4 separate regions of the Homo sapiens genome follow, and regions 1, 3 and 4 are each linked to region 2. The links are contacts of gene promoters, found by promoter capture Hi-C in blood cells and fetal thymus (Javierre and others, 2016). All regions are on one chromosome and are shown on one strand. Each heading gives the region's core, a stretch centred on a gene start or on the middle of the fragment in contact. The rest is flanking DNA. Distances are from core to core; before and after follow the strand shown. Region 1 has its middle 27 kb from the start of GNS. Region 2 holds the start of LLPH (LLP homolog, long-term synaptic facilitation factor). Region 3 overlaps LINC02389 (long intergenic non-protein coding RNA 2389). Region 4 has its middle 4.4 kb from the start of C12orf56.

Region 1 (3,155 bases), core at 450-2,949, 1.3 Mb after region 2:
TAATTTGCAATTTTGAAAAAAAAGCACTCTAGGAGGTGTCAATTTACGTACAAAATGTGACAGAGTGAAAGAGCAACAAAAGGCAACTTCCACAATCGCCTGAAAAGCTGTCACAGGCATTTTATCAAAAACATCATTGTACCTATATTTACCATACCTGAGCATACTGTTCTGCCATGCTGCATGTTAATAAAGAATGCAAAACAAAAATAGTTAAATGTTAGCAGAATAAAACATAAGGCTATTGCATGGAGAATTTTAAAATTAATTCACAAGGTTTTATACCTAGTATTTAATGTGTATCAGCAATTTAACAATTTATTTTTAATTGATTAACAAACCACACAGCTCCCACACAGCTCTTAGTTATGATTATGCAAGAGATAGGTTACATTTGCTAAACTATGTTGCCATCTTCAGATTTCAGAGCAAGTTGTTAAGGTCCTGTTACAAGAATCGATTTCTTTAAATCAATTATTTAATTCACTTACTGTAGCAACACAGAATAAGAGAAAAAGGACATGCCTTTTAGGTTATGTCTGTGTGATGCTGTTTTATTTATTTATTTTTATTTTTATTTATTTATTTTTTTTTTGAGATGGAGTTTCGCTCTTGTCGCCCAGGCTGGAGTGCAATGGTGCGATCTCGGTTCACTGCAACCTCTGCCTCCCAGGTTCAAGTGATTCTCCTGCCTCAACCTCCTGAGTAGCTGGGACTACAGGTGCCAGCCACCACGACCAGCTAATTTTTAGTAGAGATGGGGTTTCACCATGTTGGCCAGGCTGGTCTCAAACACCTGACCTCAGGTGATCCACCAGCCTCGGCCTCCAAAAGTGCTGGGATTATAGGTGTGAGCCACCACACCCAGCCAGTGATGCTGTTTTAAAAATAAAAATTTGTCCAGGCGCAGGGGCTCACGCCTGTAATCCCAGCACTTTGGGAGGCCAAGAAGGGTGAATCACCTGAGATCAGGAGTTTGAGATCAGCCTGACCAGCCTGACCAGCAAGGTGAAACCTCGTCTCTACTAAAAATACAAAAATTAGCCAGGCCTGGTGGCGGGCGCCTGTAGTTCCAGCTACTCAGGAGGCTTAGACAGGAGAATTGCCTGAACCTGGGAGGCGGAGGTTGTATTCAGCCAAGATTACGCCACTGCACTCCAGCCTGGGTGACGGAGTGAGACTCTGTTTCAAATAAATAAATAAATAAATAAAATAAAATTGTAATCATCATTCAGCATTAGGTAAAATTATTGTCAAAGTAAAGTACTACTTCAAATCTAGAATAATAAATCTAAGGTTGTAACATTAGACATGAAGTATACATTTTAACTGAAAAATAGGAAACTGTCTGAGTTGTTCCTTGTTCTTAGTTCTGAGGGTATAAGCTTGCATTTAAAACTTCTCAATATATTCACAAACACAGACTGTTGGCTCAGCTTTCCTAACATTCTAGTTGCATGTGGCAAAAGAAGTAACCCAATTCCAGTACTTACTTCTCTTCTGTGACACAGCCTGCAAGCAGGCAGTCACAATATCACAGTTCCTCTGCACTTTATGCAGAAGCCTATCTTTCTGCTTCAGATGCCGAAGTAACTTGGCCGACTGGATGCCAATTCTGTACTTTAGCTCTCGAAGGATCGTCTTCAGTTCATTAGCGTCTATCAGTAAAGAAAAATAAGAATAACGATTAATACCTTGAGAGGAATACAAATTCCAGTGTGATATTAGTCCAAAGATAAATAGAACATCCATTTAAACCAACTAATTCTAGGTTTTCACTCAAGATTACATGTATGCATTCAGCTCGGACATTCCGATCAAATAAGTCACTCATTTATCTGCCCTGTCCATGAGACAGATACTGTAAGGTAAATTTATCCTTAAGCCTATCTGTAACATGGAGCAAAAACTCCTACTTTTACCATATCTAGCTCTGGCTGCAAATTTACTTTTCATTGCCTGAAAACTGGCATGTATATTTTGTACCACTGAAGTGTTCAGATGGTAAGCTTGCTAGAAAAGAATCTTTTTTAGTCTGTTACATTAATAATAAACCTAACAGCTAATTAAAAAAAAAAAAAAGTCTTTAAAGGCCAGGCGTGGTGGCTCACACCTGTAATCCCAGCACTTTGGGAGGCCAAGGAGGGCAGATTACCTGAGGTCAGGAGTTGGAGACCAGCCTGACCAACATGGAGAAACCCCATCTCTACTAAAAATACAAAATTAACTGGGAGTGGTGGCACATGCCTGTAATCCCAGCTACTCCAGAAGCTGAGGCAGAATTGCTTGAACCCGAGAGGAGGAGGCTGCAGTGAGCCAAGATCGCGCCATTGCACTCCAGCCTGGGCAACAAGAGCGAAACTCCGTCTCAAAGAAAAAAAAAAAAAAAAAGTCTTTAAAGTACTCATCTATGTTTACAAATGATGAGCTAAAAGTAAATAATTTTACCACATTTTGTAATGTAGATGAATGTGGCAATACTGATTTTGTTTTGAATATCCAGTCTTCCAATAGCCTAAAAACATTTTGTCTTAGAGGTACAATATTTCATCTTAGAGCCTCAGCAATTTTTCAAATATGGTAGAAAATAAATTTCCTTTACACAGATAAATTACAATAATTCTACATTCATAAAACTAATATTCACAACAGCAGTTTTTTTTTTTTTACTTTATTTTACTTTAAGTTCCAGGATACATGTGCAGAGTATGCAGGTTTGTTACAGGTATACATGTGCCATGGTGGTTTGCTGCACCCATCAACCCATCACCTAGGTTTTAAGCCCCACATGCATTAGGTATTTGTTCTAATGCTCTCCCTCCCCTTAACAGCAGTTTTTCTATAGGTCAAAACAAATTTGGGAACCAGAATTGTCTACTGTCTTTATATAAATGATCATTACGATTTGGGAGGAGGTTTTTTTTGGTCACATTTGATATGATTAGTCACTAGAGCATGATCTAGTAGGCAGGCAAAGCCTTCCACTCAACTTAACCTTAGCTAGCCCCCCATTAGAGGTTCTCTGTGGGGTTTGGATCTACTCATTTTTAAAGGGATATGGAGAAACTAAAGAGAATCAGAAGAGAAGAAAATAAATGCTCAAAAGTAGAAATGCACTCTAGAGATCAAAGTCAACTTTTGGGGTCTGTAACAAA
Region 2 (3,173 bases), core at 229-2,728:
TCATGGCATGGTATTTTAACAACATGACATTTTCATAATAGGTAAATTATTTTTTCTGGTGCCAAGTGCCTATTCAAAAGTCTTGTCCTGGTATGTTAAACAAGATACAGTAAATATGGACTATCAGAATATAAGTTTTCTCTAAAATGCAATGTGCACTTATATTTTTGGGTGAGGTAGCTAACTTCTCATTTGAAAGATGAGGTACAGTATATGGTTAACTTGTAAAACAGAAATTCACTTGCTTTATAAGAACGAAATCTCATTTAAATAAACCAGGTTTCTTAGGCATGCTTCCTTTTTTTATATCAAATGTTCTAGGTTTTTTTCAGCCTCTTTAACCTTGCTATATTCTGAATTCAGTAATTTCCATACTATGCATGGTTTCATAAAGGACACAAATTTAAAGAAAAAAGGTACCCATAGATTGCCTCAGAACCCCTTTTTCTGGCAACCAGCAGGAGTTTACCAGGCCATCATTAAAGACATGTTTTTTGGGTATATGTCGTAAATCTCTAGAAACATTGCTTACAAATAGTACTGTGTAGCTATACTTTTGAAACTATAATGTAAAAAGGGTACCATTTGTTGAACTCTTACAGCATCAATTAGGTTGTATTATGTTCACTTTAGGGACAAGGAAATTCAGGCCCTTATGACATTAATTACTCACCCATATCGTTCACAAGTGTTGGAAGCAAGAGTACAACACAGACCTATATGGTTCCAAAGCCTATGCCAGTAGAAATAGTTGTACAGTAAGTGTTATTCGTGAGCTAAGACAATCGTCCTAGGCTTAGCATTGTGTCTGATACGTAAGTGATCAGACAGGTAAACATTGATAGAACTGAAATCCTTTGATCATTTTACCCTTTAAATTCTTCTCTGGGGTAGGAAAAGCTTGTTTTCTGTTTTTGGTAACCGCTTTGAGTATAACTGACATGCAATAAGTTGCACATATTTAAAGTGTGCAGTTTGATACGGTTTTACATATGTGTACATCTGTGAGGCCATCACCCGAGATGAGAAAATGCACAGGCTGCAAATAAAAATGATCTCAATACGGCCTCTGGAAGAACACCTGATCTAGGCTGACTTGATCTAAGGAAATACATGAGTATCATGTAAACGCTGAGGTCAGATCTAAAGGTCGGCTCGGAGCTCCCTATCTGACAAGTAGGGTCCCCTGGCCAGGTTCACTCCATAGGTTAGTCTCGGGGCTACCCTGCCCACGTCCGGAAAGCGGACCTACCTGGGGCCTAACCTTGACCGGACACCCGTCAGCATTCTCCAAATCCGACTTCTACACCTGTATGGGACGGACCAAGTTTCTAGGTCCGCGATCACACCAATGGCGGAAGCTCGTCAGCGCCCGGGTTCCAAAATCCCGCCTCTCAAGGCTTCTTGAGACATTTTGTCTCCCGGCGTGCAATGCGTCCGCCCCGGGTGGCCTCCGCCCGGAAGACGGAAGTGCAAAGACTTCCGGTCGGCGTGAGCGTGAGGTGTGGGTGTTCGTTTCTCAGGTGAGTTCGGTTCCTCACCGGTCCAGTGACACATGGGACTTGGGGCTTGATTCCGCCACCCTTGGAGAATTTCGTTTCTTGACACTCGCTGGGCTATACTTGAGCTCCAGTCCGGAGATGCAGGCCTTGTTGAGGGCGAGGGTTCCCCTTGCTCTTTTTGGTGGGGGCCCTCCGGCTTCCGAGTGCACTGGATAAAGTGGAGCCCACCCCTGTCGTTCACTCCCGCTGAAGTTAACTTCGGCCCTCAAGGTTGTTTGCCGCCCGCTTTCCTAGCCCCTCGCAAGGGTTGAGTTATGTAGACAAGGGAGCGGAATGACTGTGATTGCCGGCGTTCAAAAAATGTTAGTGGTTCGTTCAACAAGTATGCAAAAAGTGTGCGATTCAGCAGTGAACAAGACCTTTCCCTCTACCTTCGTGGAGTCTACAGTCTGGGGAGAGGGTCGGGGGGCGTGACAGAAAACAATGGTTTCAGGTTGTAACACTTAATAAGCAGGGAAGGGAGCTTACGGAGGTCAGAGGAGTCCTTTCTGAGGTAGCGAATGAAGGAGCAAGCCTTGAGAAGAGCAGTTGCCAGGCATAGGGACAGCAAATATGAAGGCACTGACGTAGAGATAGTTTGGACTCTTTACAGACGTAGTTGGTGCCTGCGGGGATGGGGATGGAGAATGAAATGAAATAGAGTTGAAGGAGGCAGGGGACAGATCACAAATGACCTTGTAGATCTTGAATATATATGAGGGAGGAGGTCTTTAAAGAACTCGAAGAAAGGCAGTGAATGCTTTTTTAAAAGATCACACTGAGCACCTTGTGGAGGATTTAGGGCGGAACTGAGTGGAAAGAAAACAAGAGTAGGAATAGATAAGTTTACAGTCGTTAAGTTGGCTTGAGAGGATGGATAATGAAGATGAGGTGAAGTGTTTATAAAAATCATTTGTAATTTGTAAGCTGTTGCATAAATGTAAGGTGATGACGCTGTTGCATTCTGGGGAAATTAAATTTCTGTATTTTGTAAAGAAATTCAGCCGGGCGCGGTGGCTCAAGCCTGTAATCCCAGCACTTTGGGAGGCCGAGGCGGGCGGATCACAATGTCAGGAGATCGAGACTATCCTGGCTAACACGGTGAAAACCCGTCTCTACTAAAAATACAAAAAATTAGCCAGGCGTGGTGGCGGGCGCCTGTAGTCCCAGCTGCTCGGGAGGCTGAGGCAGGAGAATGGCGTGAACCTGAGAGGTGGAGGTTGCAGTGAGCTGAGATCGCGCCACTGCACTCCAGCCTGGGACACAGAACAAGACTCTGTCTCAAAAAAAAAAAAAGAAAAAAGACATGCAAGGTGCTTTCAGAATTGGTTTGATTTGTAGTTTGCTTATGACCACAAGTTTGATTTGATATCTTGTTATTTAGTGACTGTGTATGTACCATGTTGATCTTCATATAAGTTGCATGTTAAGTCCTAAAAAGTGAACAGATTGAAGAGTTTTACTTTTCACTTGTTTTGTAGAGATACCTGTTGGCCTGGTTTTCTAAGGATTTGCCTGTTTTCTTTTTTATATTAAAGATTTGCTTTTGAATGTGTGTTTTTGTTAACTTCAGGTAAAACATGGCTAAAAGCTTACGGAGTAAGTGGAAAAGAAAGATGCGTGCTGAAAAGA
Region 3 (3,124 bases), core at 188-2,687, 1.2 Mb after region 2:
TGTGAATAAAATACTGGAATCCATCCATTTCTCCGGATTGAACATTAGCAACTGTTTTTTTTAATTGCTTTTCTTGTTTTTGTTTTTTTAATTTGTTTTAGAAGACAGTCAATTCAAAAAAAATTTTCTTGATGTAATTCCTTTTTCAAAAATTATCTTTTTAAATTCTGGAAATCCAATGTTTATGACTTAAGCCTTGTTATTTTTATACTATTAAAGGTTTGGGGTTTAAGGCTTTGTTTTGTGTTTTTGGCAAGCCTTTAAACAAATATTGTTGTTGAATAAGAACCTCTTCAAATGTTTTACTCATTCTTTATTGACCTTTCAAGATACACACAGTAGTGACATCACAGCCACCATGTCTAGCAGTGACACTCCAAACCATTTACCAGGCAAACTTAAGGAGTGGTTCATTCTCTGCACCTGGTGGGGATGGACAGTCCCTCCTGGAGGGGATCCATTGGTTACCTCTAAGATAATTTCAAAAGAAGGTGGAACTGGGACTCTCTGGGGCTGACTACTTTCTCAGGGAGAGGCATCAGGTGCAAAGCTATTTTTATCTCTTCAAAGCTCTACAACACAGGCTAGTCTTCCCCTCCCCCAACTATTTCTAGAAATTTGAAATGTTATTGTATCAGTCAAGACTAAATTGCTGGCACCAAACCCAAATTGAAGAGAAGACTTTTGGAGGGTAAGGGGTGGAGTATCCTCATTTATTGGAAACACTTTGCAATCATTCCACTCAATTTAGGAGGGCTGTGAAAATATAAGCATAAATAAAAATAATATATAAAACAACATAAACAATACAAATAACATCATGTATGGATTTTTGGCTGTGAAAATTATAACAGCAACTTATTACTATGAACAGCATGCTAAGTAAAAATGGTCCTATTCTTAGCTGAAGCACATTCTAATCTCTAGGTCTGTCTCTATCTCTGTCTTTCTAAATTATCTATACTATTTCTATACCTATACCTATATCTCTCTACATATGTAGCTCAGAAACTTTGTACTTGCTGTTTCCTCTTTCTGGAACATTCTTTCCCCCAAATACATGGATGAGGCCTTCTGACACTATAGCAGTCCCTAACAGCAGCTGTGGGCTCTCCTGTGATTCTCATATCAGTGAGCCTCCTACACCAATGATATACTCCATGCACATGGTGGGGGTTAGGGGATTGGGAACATATGGCAACTTGCCAATGTCAGAATGTTATTTTAAGTCACTTAATTACACCGAGCTACAGATTTTCATCAGTGAAAAAAAAGAGTGGTCCAGACTGGTAGTTTCCAAACTCTGTTCCCCAGAACCCCAAGATCTCCCCCAAAGCAACTTCAGGGGTAATGCTGGCAACCAGAGAGGAAACCAGTGTGCAGAGCTCTGGCCTCTCTGCCCCCACCTGAATGAGGGTAGTGGTTCAGTTGTACTCCAAAAGTCCAGATATTCACCCTAAAACATACAGGGATTTAGTATGTGATTATAAAGGTGGCATTTTTAATCAATAGGGGAAAGATTAATAAATGGTGCCGGCACCACTAGGTAACTATTTGGAAAAAATAAATGTTAAGATGGAACCTTAGTTCCCAACTTACACAAAAGTAAATTCCAAATGAGTCAGATTTAAACATAAAAAATGAAACCATAAAACTAGTAGAAGGAAAAAATTAAAGAACTTTAACCACAAAGAAGTAGAGAGAGCCTTTCCAAACATCACACAAAACCCAGAAGCTATAATAGAAAAGATTAATAGATATGACCAAATAAAAATGACCTTAAATCTATATACATGTCAGTAAATCAGCATGAACAAAGTCAAAAGATAATTGACAAAATGAGAAAAATATTGTGACACAGATTACAGACAAGGATGTTTTTCTTAACGCATAAAAAACTCACAAATCAGTAAGAAAAAGGCTGGGTGTGGTGGCTCATGCCTCTAATCCCAGCACTCTGGGAGGCCGAGGCAGGCTGATCACGAGGTCAGGAGATCAAGACCATCCTGGCTAACATGGTGAAACCCCCATCTCTACTAAAAAAAAAATACAAAAATTAGCCAGGCGTGGTGGCGGGCACCTGTAGTCCCAGCTACACGGGAGGCTGAGGCAGGAGAATGGCATGAACCCGGGAGGCGGAGCTTGCAGTGAGCCGAGATCGCACCACTGCACTCCAGCCTGGGCAACAGAGTGAGACTCCATCTCAAAAAAAAAAAAAAAAAAACCAGTAAGAAAAAAAACAGCAAGAATGAGCAAAGCCTATGAACAAAGGACATATAAATAACTTTTAAATATATGTCAACCTTATGCATATTTTTCAAACATACATTAAGTACTCACCCAATCAGAAAAGATCAAAAAATTTGATAAGATTCTCAGTAATGTGGGGGTAGGAGGAATTGGGCACTTCCTTACATTGCTGATGGAAGCAGAAACTTATGGAACATCTGTGGAGAGCAATTTGGCAACATGTATCAAAATTTTAAATGTGCATTGTTGACAAGTAATTCCATGTCTTAGAATTTATTCTTTAGCTAACTTCCTTATTAGCAATATTACATCATATGTACAAGGATATGCATATTCCATAGATATGAAATTGGAAGCAAACAAATAATCTAATAATAGATTAGAGAATAAATGTATTGTGCACAGACCTGAAATGGAAATCTATGCAGCAGTAAAAAAGAACGAGGTGGCTCTACTTGCACTGTTCTGGAACAATCTCCATGGTACATAGTGAAAAAGGAAAGTTCAGAAGGTTATTGTGTTACTGCTTACGAAAGTGTGTGTGTGAGAATGTGCTTGAATATGCATAAAACATCTCTGAAAGGATACAAAAGAAAGGAGTAACATCGGTTTCCTGTGGGTAGAAGCTTTGAGTGGATAGGGGACAAGGGGTGGAGGGAGACCTAGTTTTCCTATGTGCTTTTTCGTACATGTTAAATTTTCACCTTGTGCAAATATTATCTACTTAAAGTACAAGTCTAAACAATAATTTTATAATGTTCTGCTCCTTAAAAACCTTTGAAAATCATTGAGCTACATGATGCCTAGGATTGCCATTAGTAATGTTTATTATTGTGATATAACCACTTTTTATTAAATAATATCATGATTCTGT
Region 4 (3,271 bases), core at 677-3,176, 1.7 Mb after region 2:
TACAGGATCTGCCCTCAGATGGAGACGTTACCAGTGAACAGGCATTCCTTGTCAATGTAGGTGCCCTCAATAGTCTCTTTGGACCTCTTGAAGCCTAGACCGATGTTCTTGTAAGTACCATAGGAGCTGCTTCTTGCCAGTTTCCTTTAGCAGTACCCTCTTCTTGCTTTGAATGATGGTCAGCTGCTTGTGGTAGGCATGCTCAGTCTCAATCCACCATCTTCTTGGCTGCCTGAGAAAAAACTAGACAATTATTATTATTATTATTATTTTGAGATGGAGTTTCGCTCTGTCACCAGGCTGGAGTGTGGTGGTGCGATCTTGGCTCACGGCAACCTCCGCCTTCTGGTTCAAGCAGTTCTCCTGCCTCGGCCTCCTGAGTAGCTGGTGCACCACCACGCCCAGCTAATTTTTGTATTTTTAATAGAGACGGAGTTTCACCATGTTGGCCAAGATGGTCTCGATCTCTTGACCTCATGGTCCACCTGTCTCGGCCTTCCAAGATGTTGAGATTACAGGTGTGAGCCACCATGCCCGGCCAAAACTAGACAATTTTTAAAGATTGAAAGTAAGTGTTATCCTGATTCTGTTTATGGCTAATAAATATTTCTCAGTAAATATTTGTGAAATGTATTGAGTTGAACCAAAAAGAACATAATTACGAGCTGATAGCTGCTGAGTTCTGTGTCAGATTCTCTGTGTGTTTCATCTCATTGTTCTTAAAGCCGAATGTCATTGTCACTAAAAGCTTATGCATAATGGGCTTCTTGGCAGAGAAAGAAGTTGGAAAACAGGTCAGGAATGCTGCCTTTATTGGTCCTATTCCAACCATTAGTTCCTCTTACAGGAAGTACATGTGCAGCAGGAAGCCTGAGAGGCAAAATAGAGCATTGGAGTATTATTCAGTGAAAGAAAACATTAATCCAAATCATTTGTCTGGTTTTTATAACAATGACATCTTTCCTTTGTATGTCATCTAATTACTAATAGTAGATTACTAATAGTAGATATTTAAATGATCAGTATCCATTAATAATAAGTATAGGGCTGGGCGCGGTGGCTCACGCCTGTAATCCTAGCACTTTGGGGGCCAAGGCAGGTGGATCACCTGAGGTGGGGAGTTCAAGACCAGCCTGACCAACATGGAGAAACCTTGTCTCTACTAAAAATACAAAAATTAGCTAGGTGTGGTGGTGCATGCTTGTAATCCCAGCTACTTGTGCGGCTGAGGTAGGAGAATTGCTTGAACCTGGGAGGCAGAGGTTGCGGTGAGCCAGAGGTTGCAGTGAGCCAAGATCGCACCATTGCACTCCAGCCTGGGCAACAAGAGCGAAACTCTGTCTCAAACAAAACAAAACAAAACAAAAACAACAACAACAAAAAACAAGCAACAACAACAACAACAAAAAAAACAACTAAGTTGAAGCACTAAGAGATTCCTAAATGAGACACCTTTAAAAAGTCAGGTTTAGGGCTGGGTGTGGCGGCTCATGCCTGTAATCCCAGCACTTTGGGAGGCTAAGGCAGGCGGATCACCTGAGGTCAGGAGTTCGAGACCAGCCTCAACATGGAGAAACCCCGTCTCTACTAAAAATACAAAATTAGCCGGGCATGGTGGTGCATGCCTGTAATCCCAGCTACTTGGGAGGCTGAGGCAGGAGAATTGCTTGAACCCGGGAGGTGGAGGTTGCAGTGAGCCGAGATTGCGCCACTGCACTCCAGCCTGGGTGATAGAGTGAAACTCCTTCTCAAGAAAAAAAAAAAAAGGTCAGGTTCTATTTATAGGCCACATATTCTAAATATCTTACTGTGTGTACTGTCTGTCTTTAGTTTCAAGTGGGGGGAATGGGAATACTTGGGATCCCTAGAAGCATTGAAGAGTACTTCTAGTTTGGAATCCTTACATGGTTCTCATGGCCTAACCTGCTGGTCTCTTCTCCACTAAAAATGTGACCCAAAAAAGGTAAAATTTGCCTTGGGTCAATCTCAGAAAGTTAGACTTGTATCCAATCAGAAGAATTTAATATTACCTTGTAGATAGGGAGCAGAACGACCACATATGTAACAGGAAATCACATACTTGTTGAACTTATTCTTTCTTTCTTTCTTTATTTTTTAAGACAGAGTCTCACTCTGTTGCCCAGGCTGGAGTGCAGTGGTGCCATCTTGGCTCACTGCAACCTCTGCCTCCCGGGTTCAAGTGATTCTTGTGCCTCAGCCTCCCAGGTAGCTGGGACTACAGGTGCCCGCCACCACGCTGGCTAATTTTTGTATTTTTTGGTAGAGATGGGGTTTCACCATGCTGTCCAGGCTGGTCTCGGACTCCTGACCTCATGTGATCCACCCACCTGGGCCTCCCAGAGTGCCGGGATTACAGGTGTGAGCCACCATGCCCAGTCAACTTGTTCTTTAGACGCTTATATAGTATTTACTCCAGTCCAGGTTCCTGTTCTAGGTACTATTGAAACTTTTTAAATCCTCGTAATAACCCTTTGGGGGTTGGTACTATTATCTCCATTTCATAGATGGGGAAACTGAGGCATAGGTCATTCAGCTACTGAATAGGAGAGCTGGAATTTGAACCCAGGTCATCTGGCTCTACAGTTCTATGCTCATAACTACTGTGCTTCGAATTATTTAAATTGACCATCCCTGTACCTAAGACCACTGTTCTGATGAAATTCAAGGAGACTGCATTTGAGGATTAGTCCAGGTAAGTAATGTCCCATTCCTTTTGATAATTTTGTCAAGAAACATCTATTAAGTGCTTGATTGCAGGAGTTCCTTTGCCAAATGTTTCTTGAGTTTGGATGAACTTACAAGATAAGGAGGGGGTACCTATCTTTGGTGCATTTGGGTTAACCATGTAAAACAGGGGTATCCAGGCTTTTGACTTCCCTGGGCCACATTGGAAGAAGAAGAATTGTCTTGGGCCACATATAAAATATACTAACACTAATGATAGCTGATGAGCTAAAAAAAAAAAAAAAAATCGCAAAAAAATCTCATAATGTTTTAAGACATTTATGAATTTGTGTTGGGCCACATTTAAAGCCTTCCTGGGCTGCAGGTGGCCTATGGGCCATGGATTGATGTAAAGCTTACCAAAAGATAAGGGAATGTGAATGCTTCATATGTCTGTAGTGCTCATAGAGTCTATAATTCATCACATTTGATCCTCACATTTTATAGATGATGAAACTGAGGCTCGGAAAGGTTGTGACTTTCCAAAAGTCTGATAGATAACAGAGTTAGTGCCCTTATCTAGTTC

What was found. Contacts are between HindIII fragments. The CHiCAGO score rates a contact against its expected background, and 5 or more counts as called.
Region 1: a fragment that was not itself captured here is called in contact with the fragment with the promoter of LLPH in region 2 in 1 of 17 cell types (activated CD4 T cells); the score reaches 7.9 in activated CD4 T cells.
Region 3: a fragment that was not itself captured here is called in contact with the fragment with the promoter of LLPH in region 2 in 1 of 17 cell types (activated CD4 T cells); the score reaches 7.2 in activated CD4 T cells.
Region 4: a contact is called between a fragment that was not itself captured here and the fragment with the promoter of LLPH in region 2, in 1 of 17 cell types (activated CD4 T cells). The highest score is 5.9, in activated CD4 T cells.

What each region holds. Positions count from the first base shown.
Region 1 is chr12:64,784,384-64,787,538 of GRCh38, reverse strand. It overlaps a transcript of TBC1D30 not described here. Among named protein-coding and RNA genes, the nearest start is that of GNS, 27 kb to the right of the region's middle. The HindIII fragment of the contact is 624 bases long and covers 1,388-2,011 here.
Region 2 is chr12:66,129,055-66,132,227 of GRCh38, reverse strand. LLPH (LLP homolog, long-term synaptic facilitation factor) reads left to right here and starts at 1,478. Exons shown (of 3, transcript NM_032338.4): 1 at 1,478-1,523; 2 at 3,115-3,173. The coding sequence starts at 3,122. LLPH-DT (LLPH divergent transcript) reads right to left here and starts at 1,477. Exons shown (of 2, transcript NR_125724.1): 1 at 1,253-1,477. RefSeq lists enhancers at 1,455-1,564, 1,605-1,754. The HindIII fragment of the contact is 2,232 bases long and covers 903-3,134 here.
Region 3 is chr12:64,884,517-64,887,640 of GRCh38, reverse strand. All of the region lies in intron 1 of LINC02389 (long intergenic non-protein coding RNA 2389), which reads right to left. Among named protein-coding and RNA genes, the nearest start is that of LINC02389, 2.3 kb to the right of the region's middle. The HindIII fragment of the contact is 2,882 bases long and covers 1-2,878 here.
Region 4 is chr12:64,393,475-64,396,745 of GRCh38, reverse strand. It overlaps the pseudogene RPS11P6. Among named protein-coding and RNA genes, the nearest start is that of C12orf56, 4.4 kb to the right of the region's middle. The HindIII fragment of the contact is 2,352 bases long and covers 751-3,102 here.